3 separate regions of the Homo sapiens genome follow, and all the other regions are linked to region 2. Evidence: promoter capture Hi-C in human tissues and cell types (Jung and others, 2019). All regions are on one chromosome and are shown on one strand. Each heading gives the region's core, a stretch centred on a gene start or on the middle of the fragment in contact. The rest is flanking DNA. Distances are from core to core; before and after follow the strand shown. Region 1 has its middle 39 kb from the start of LINC01560. Region 2 holds the start of GRIPAP1 (GRIP1 associated protein 1). Region 3 has its middle 7.1 kb from the start of ZNF81.

Region 1 (2,700 bases), core at 3-2,502, 1.6 Mb after region 2:
AATATATTCTGGGTGTAACTTCACTATCAGTCCATTATCCTTGCAAAGGTTTTCTCCCAGTCTCTGGATTGTCTTTTCATTCTCTTAAGAGTGTCTTTTGAAGAACAGAACTGCTTATTTTGATGAAGTCCGTTCTTTCCATTTGTTCATTTCTGGGTTGTGCTTTGAGTGCTGTATCTAAGAAATCCTTGCCTAACCAAAGATTACAATGATTTTTTCCTGTGTTTTCTTCTAAAGGTTTAAGTTTTACATCTAGATCTAGCATGTATTTTGAGTTATATGGTGTGAAATATGGATCCAAGTTCTTTTATGTTTTTGTTTTGTTTTGTTTTGTTTTTGCTTATGGATATTCAAATGTTTCCACACCATTTGTTTAAAAATACTACCCTTTCTCAATATTTTGACTTTTGTCAAAAGTCACTTGTCCAGGCCAGACATGGTGGCTCATGCCCTGTAATCCCAGTGTTTTGCAAGGCTGACATGGGGGGATCACTTGAGGCCAGGAGTTCAAGACCAGCTTGGGCAACATGGCAAGATCCTGTCTCTAAAAAAATTCTTTTTAAATTACCCAGGGGTAGTGGTGCATGCCTATAGTCCCAGTTACTCAGAAGGCTGGGGTGGGAGGATTGCTTGAGCCCAGGAGCTAGAGGCTGCAGGGAGCTATGATCCACACCACTGCACTCCAGCCTGGGTAACAGAGTGAGACCCAGTCTCTTAAAAAAGAAAAACCATCACTTGTCCAGAGGTGGAGCTTCTGGAATGGTAGGGTGAGGAGCTCATCAAAACCCCTCCCCCAAAAGCTTTTTTTAAATGGTCAAAAACTACCAAACCTTGATAAGAATAGTGGGGTCTATGGCATTTAGACTTGGAGCTGCTCCCATCCACAGCTCTGTGGGCATGGTAGCCATGAGGAATGGAAGCCTCACTGTAAATGGAGGGAGCTGACCTGACTCTGAGCTCCAGAGAAAAGCTCCATGCCTAGGGGTATTGTCAAAAACAACAGCAATGTTGGTAGCAAGTAATTGGGGAAGGCCAACCTCACAGCTGCCTGAGGCTGCAACATTGTTTGAGTGAGCAGCAGACCAGACAAAAAATTAAAGGGATATGGAAAATAAGACAGCAGTAGTGGGAATTGATAAGTCCATGCATATGCATGAGGATGTGGAAGGCTGTGTACATGACCACAAAATATCAGGTACCTAGATGAATGTGAGACCCTATACAAGCCGAAATGAATGCCAGCACAGACTTACAAGCAGACCGAACTTAATATGCGTACTCAAACTCACACAGTTATCCCCTTAGTGGAAGCCATACTGGTTTGAGGTGTATAATCACAACTTCTAAGCAATCATTGGATAAAAATAAGCTATGCAGACCCACAGGTGACCCCAAGGAAGCCAGGCATAAAAACGGAAAGAATTATTTAAAAACTAAACAGCCAGGTGTGGCGGCTCACACCTGTAATCCCAGCACTTTGGGAGGCTGAGGCAGGAGGATCACCTGAGGTCAGGAGTTCAAGACCAGCCTGGCCAACATGGTAAAACCCCATCTCTACTAAAAATATAAAATTAGCCAGGTGTGGTAGCGCATGCCTGTAATTCTAGCTACTTGGGAGGCTGAGGCAGGAGAATCGCTTGAACCTGGGAGGTGGAGGTTGCAGTGAGCTGAAATCGCACCACTGCACTCCAGCCTGGGCAACAAGAGTGAAACTCCATCTCAAAAAAAAAAACTAAGCAGAGACATCAGTAACTGCACACTGAGGGATGAAAAACTCTACAGAATTAGTCCCCATGAGTCCCTAAACAAACAAAAAACAACAGCAACAATAATAACTGTGGAGGGTGGGGTCATAATCCAGAATTACTAAAATATATATTATCTACAGTGTCAACTTTTTAACAATTATGAGACATGCAAAACAAACAAACTGCACACACAGAGAATTCTGGTCCATACACAGGGGAAAAAAAAATACCAGTCCACTAGAAACTGTCTCTGAGGATGTCCACATGTTGCATTTAATAGTTAAAGACTTGGTGTCTTTATATATTAAATAGCCACGTGTGGTGGTACATGCCTGTGGTCCCAGCTAATCAGGAGGCTGAAGCAAAAGGATCGCTTGAGCCCAGGAATTGGAGACTGCAGTAAGCCATGATAGTGTCACTGCACTCTAGCCTGTGCTACAGAGCAAGACACTGTCTCAAAAATAAAAAATAAAAAAAAATAAAATATCTAGTTCACCAAAAAAAAAAAAAGAGAGAAAGAGAAAGAACAAAAAGATATGAGAGCTAAGGAAAACAAATCTCAAAATGGCAGATGTAAATCTATCCATATCAATAATTATATTCGAAATAAATGGACTAAATTCCCCAATCAAAAGGCAGAGACTGTCATATTAGGATGAAGACAGGATCCAACCATATGCTACCTGTAAAAGCCACACTTTAGATTCAAAGTTACAAATACGCTGAAAGTAAAATGATGGAAAAATATCTAACATGCAAAGAGTAACATAAATGAGCTGGAGTGGCTATACTGATTTCTGGCAAAATAGAAATTTAGTTGGAAAATGTTACTAAACACAAAAGGGTCATTTTATAATGATACTATGGTCAATTCATCAGAAAAATATTTTTTTAATTTTATATAAATTTATAAAATTGTATATCAATGTATATTTTATTAAAAATATAATAT
Region 2 (2,700 bases), core at 76-2,575:
TGCGATCTCGGCTCACCGCAACCTCTGCCTGGCGGGTTCAAGCGATTCTCGTGCCTCAGCCTTCCGAGTAGCTGGGATTACAGGCGCCCACCACCACACCCGGCCAATTTTTGTGTTTTTAGTAGAGATGGGGTTTCACCATGTTGGCCAGGTTAGTCTCGAACTCCTGACCGCAAGTGAACAGCCCTCCTTGGCCTCCCAAAGTGCTGGGATTACAGGCGTGAGCCACCGCGCCCGGCCCTGCTGGAAATATTTTTCCACAGCAGGGAAATCATTAAATTCTACGAAAATAAGAAGGCTGGGCGCGGTGGCTCACGCCTTAATCCCAGCACTCTGGGAGGCCGAGGCGGGCGGACTACCTGAGGTCGGGAGTTCGAGACCGGCCTGACCAATATGGAGAAACCCCGTCTCTACTAAAAAAAAAAAAAAAAATTACCCGGACGAGGTGGCGGGCGCCTGTAATCCCAGCTACTCGGGAGGCTGAGGCAGGAGAATCGCTTGAACTCGCCAAGCGGAGGTTGCTGTGATCGGATATCGTGCCACTGCACTCCAGCCTGGGCAACAAAAGTGAAACTCCGTCTCAAAAAAGAAAAACAACAACAACAACAACAACAAAAACAGAAAGAAAAAAGAAAATAAGAAAAAAACTACACTGAGATACCATTTCTTACTCTCAGATCGGTGAGGGTTATAGTGAATTCTAATACTTGAATGAGCCTGGTGTTTCACCACCCTGGTTTGTTTTTTGTTTTTGTTTTGTTTTAATGTAGCTTTTTCGTTTGATTCACTGTCACTCTTTCCACTCTGCTATTTTTATTGGTGGCTAAGTCCTTTACCTAACGTGACATGCAGTATCATGATAACAAAATAAGTGTCAAACCTTAAAAAAAAAAAAAAAAAAAAAGGCCAAAGGCTTTACAAGAGGTGGGATTCCCCTTTGGGGTCTCCCGGAGGAGGGGCGGGAACAAGACCAGAGCGAAGCTTCCGCTTTCATTTCTATGGTTATTAAGTTACCCATTCTCATTAAAGGAATACCGCGGAAGGGTGATTTTCTGTCGGCAAAGACTTCCCTAGCGACGAGTCCACCCATGAAACGGGGATGTAATAATGTCGTATCACAATGGGTGGCCTAGAAGAGTCCAAAAGCCAATCAGATGACTTACATTCGGGTAGAACGTTGTATTACAGTTCACCTGACTCGTCGGTTTCGTTCTCTTCTCTGCGTCTCCAAAATGCTGCCCTTCGGAATTAGGTTCTACCCCCTCCATTCCTGGCCAGTGGTTTGGTCCGACCTTAATACTGCCAGGAGGCGCGAGCTGCGTCTGCGCAGAAAGCTGGCGGGGGGGTGGGGGGAGGAACATGGCGCAAGCTCTGTCTGAGGAGGAGTTTCAGCGGATGCAGGTGCCGCTCGCGGTGGGAAAGACCACCCGGCTAGGCGACCGGGGGCGGGGTAGCGAGAGGTCGTGCTATCAGCTCTGAGAAGGGGTTGGTTGGGATGGACCCTGAGTTTATGGGGTGGGTCTGGAGAAGGGAAACTGAGGCTCGGAGTGGTGAGACTATTGGATTCCGAGATACTCTGCGGCTTTGAAGGTTGGACTCTGTTAGCATTGTGGGCTGGGAGAGCGCCATTAAGTAGGCGGTACCTTACTCAGACCTGGAGGGGACGAGACTTTTGGGCCCGTGCAGGGGACACCGTCGGCGGGTGATGATAATGGGCTTTGAGGGAAGGAGATCCTGAGAAGGCGAAACCATTTTGTCTGGAGAGGAAGGAAGCGGGTGTTGGGTCGTTTGCGTCATGGTGGTGGGAGCCCTTGAGAGGGCAGAACCATTAGCGGGTGGGAGGTGGTAAGTTTTGGGGGAGATACCACTGTGCCCGGGGATTGGGGAAAGACCCCAGATGTTGTCATTGTTCCTGGGAGGTGGAGATCCTGTGCCATTGGTGGTTGGTAGTGCATCCTAAGAGGGGGCGGCACCATTGGATGATTAAGGGTGATCCCATTAGGCCTGGGGTGAAGAAGGCCATGAATGGGTAATACCATTAATCCCATTAACTGGGGGGAGGACCAGAGGGGTAAAAGATTGATACCTTGGACTACAAGGAGGGAAGATCACTGGGCTTTGGGGAGGTACCCCCACTTGATTCTTTTGGGGGGACTCTGAGATGCAATGAAAGGCCATAGCATTGCACTATGAATGGGCCCTTGTTGAGAGGGTTCCTCACTGGGGGGGGGGTCTGAACAGGGTCCTGCATGGGGAGGGGAGGAACTCTGAGGGAGGACAGGTAATCCAATTGGTCCTTGAATGAGGGAAACCAGCTGTCCCTGTGTGAGGGACACTGAGAATGGAAGGGCGAGTTGATTAACCCATGAATGGGGAAGACCACTGTCATCTGAAAGGGATTCTAAGTGAGTAAGAGTCATCCAACTGGCCTACCCAAGGCCTTGTAGAGGCCTACCCTGAAGGGTGTAGGGCCATTCCCAATGGATCATGACTGGGGAGATCTTGAGGGGAGTGGGAATACCCTTGAATGAGGAACATTGATCCCACTGGGCCATGAATGAGGGAGAACTACTGGGCTTTGTTGGGGGGCAAGTCTCGGGGGGTACAAAGGATATTCCACTTGGACCAGTACTTGGAGAGACAGATCACTGGGTCCTGGAGAGGACAGGAGTAGGAAAGATTCTGTGAAGGCCAAGCCCT
Region 3 (2,700 bases), core at 76-2,575, 1.2 Mb after region 2:
CCCGTCTCTACTAAAAATACAAAAATTAGCCGGGTGTGGTGGCGGACTCCTGTAATCCCAGCTACTCGGGAAGCTAAGGCAGAGAATTGCTTGAACCCGGGAAGTGGAGGTTGTAGTGAGCCAAGATCGTGCCACTGCACTCCAGCCTGGGCGACAGAGTGAGACTCCATCTCAAAAAAAATTATGTTTTAAATTATGTTTTAAAATGCACAATTAAGTTATTATTGACTATAGTCACCCTATCGTGCTATCAAATAGTAGATCTTATTCATTTTTTCTAACTATATTTCTTGTACCTGCTAACCATCCCCACCTCCCCACCAGCCCCCCATTATCCTTCCCAGCCTCTGGTAACCATCCTTCTACTCTCTATCTCCGTAATTGTTTTGATTTATAGCTCCCACAAATAAGTGAGAACATGCGATGTTTGTCTTTCTGTGCCTCGCTTATTTCACTTAACAATGATCTCCAGTTCCATCCATGTTGTTGCAAATGACTGGTCTCATTCTTTTTATGGCTAAATTGTATTCCATTATGTATAAGTACAATGTTTTCTTTATCCATTCATCTGTTGATGGACCTTTAGGTGGGTTCCAAATCTTAGCTATTGTAAACAGTGCTGCAACAAACATAGGAGTGCAGGTATTTCTTCCATATACTGATTTCCAGAACTGCCACTTTAAATAGAGAGGTCAGTCGGGATTCTTTACATCTATGTGGGTACCCAGTTGAAAACCAAGAAGAATGCAGAGTTCGAGTATTTTTATATCTGCAGCTAAGGACATAATGATGAGCACCTGTGTCCTAGAGCAGATGCAAAAATTAATCCACAGCCAAGGTCTCCTGGTCACTCTTGTCTTGTGTGCCTCCCTTTAGTAGGGGAAAACATTTTACAAAGTCTTCCACTGACAGAAGTCAAAGAAACCTTTGTGAAAAGTATCAGGTTCAATGGCTGAGCAGGGACCTCAGGACCAATAACCACAACCATTTACATACTTCAGTAGATAGCAAGCAATAATACCTTATTTATTTTACACCCAGCTTTTTAATGGAAAAATTTCACACCTACACAAAAGTTGAAAGAATTGCACTATGAATATTCAAATACCTTCCACCTAGAAGTAACAATTGTTCATCTATGTCACATTTGCCTTATATTTCTGTTTGCATATATACAGGCCCCATCATTTAAAAACAGAGTCAAAAGAAAATGATTGAAGTGACTGCTATAGAGCTTAAAGGCTTTATTCAGCTGAGGTGCATCAGGTGATGTCCTGATTGAAGCAGGGTCAGGGTTTTTATGAGGGAAAGTGGAATATGTGTTCTTGCTTTTGGCTTAGGTAGCTGTATGTGTGTATACACACACACACACACACACACACACACACACACACACACACACACACACACACACACACACTAGAGAGAGACGGGGTCTCGCTATGTTGCCCAGGCTGATACCAAACTCCTGTCCTCAAGCGATCCTCCTGCCTCAGCCTCCCAAAGTGCTAGGATTATAGTTGTGAGCTACCATGCCTGGCCTGGATAGCAGTTTTTGACTTTAAGTGAAACTCGTAGTTGGTGGCAGGGTCGTTCCTGTTTTTGTGCCCCTTGCTCAATCAGAACCCTTCAGGACAGTATTTTTAGAGGATTACTTTTGCAAACATTGTGGCTTATCTGCTAGTCAGAGCTCATGGGGGCAGGGGAGAGATAGCAAAAAAGGATGAAAGGTGCAAGGTAGAAGGCAACAGAGAAACTGAGGACTCCACCGTGTTTGTTTTACAATACCTTTGTACAGTAAGCTGCAGACATCATGCTCCTTATACTCAGCAGGATATATACTCAGCATGTATCTCCTGAGGGACTGAATATACAAACAGGCAATGGCCAGACCATATATAACAATAGAATCCTGACCTACAACCTCTACAGCAATAAGCATGGGAAGCCAAACCACAACCTCAGTAGCAATCAGCCCAGATGGTCAGGATTTGATTGATGACATCTAGCTTCTCAATTTTTTTAACCCAATTTCCAACTCAGGGCCAACCAGAAAAAGCCAAATCTACTTCCCAAATCAATCGCATAGGATGCCCCACTTCAGTTAGTCCACCTCCAGCTTGTGCACTCCAACACCCTCCAATCAGGACACACCTGAAGCCTTCCCCTTTTTCTACTACATATAAAGCTTTCCCATTCTTCTGCCTGCCTTTGAGTCTTTGACAAACGCCAAGTGATAATGGCCCAATACCTTACTGTAGTAAGCTCTGAAAAGTCTCTGCTTTTTCTCATTGGATCATCTGTGTAGATTTCCACTCTCCTAAGAACAAGGACATTTTCTTGCATAGCCACAAACCCATTCTCACCCCTAAGAAATTTGAGAGGTTTTTTTAAACGATTTAAAATTTTATGTTTAAATTATCATATAGTAACATTGACTTTTTGGTGTACAGTTTAATTAATTAATTCCTTATTTATTTATTTTTGAGATGGAGTCTCGCTCTGTCACCCAGGCTGTAGTGCAGTGGCCTGATCTCAGCTCACTGCAACCTCTGCCTCCCGGGTTCAAGCCATTCTCCTGCCTCAGCCACCTGAGTAGCTGGGATTACAGGTGCCCACCACCATGCCCAGCTAATTTTTGTATTTTTTTAGTAGAGATGGAGTTTCACCATGTTGGCCAAGCTGGTCATTAACTCCTAA

Evidence for each region. Contacts are between HindIII fragments. The study calls those that stand out against the background at their distance.
Region 1: a fragment that was not itself captured here is called in contact with the fragment with the promoter of GRIPAP1 in region 2 in 1 of the 25 tissues and cell types used here (stomach).
Region 3: a fragment that was not itself captured here is called in contact with the fragment with the promoter of GRIPAP1 in region 2 in 1 of the 25 tissues and cell types used here (aorta).

Annotation. Positions count from the first base shown.
Region 1 is chrX:47,442,389-47,445,088 of GRCh38, reverse strand. No RefSeq gene overlaps it. Among named protein-coding and RNA genes, the nearest start is that of LINC01560, 39 kb to the left of the region's middle. The HindIII fragment of the contact is 4,206 bases long and covers 1-2,700 here.
Region 2 is chrX:49,000,889-49,003,588 of GRCh38, reverse strand. It overlaps GRIPAP1 (GRIP1 associated protein 1), which reads left to right and starts at 1,325. Exons shown (of 26, transcript NM_020137.5): 1 at 1,325-1,401. The coding sequence starts at 1,360. RefSeq lists an enhancer at 1,207-1,316. The HindIII fragment of the contact is 33,502 bases long and covers 1-2,700 here.
Region 3 is chrX:47,828,454-47,831,153 of GRCh38, reverse strand. No RefSeq gene overlaps it. Among named protein-coding and RNA genes, the nearest start is that of ZNF81, 7.1 kb to the left of the region's middle. The HindIII fragment of the contact is 4,232 bases long and covers 1-2,700 here.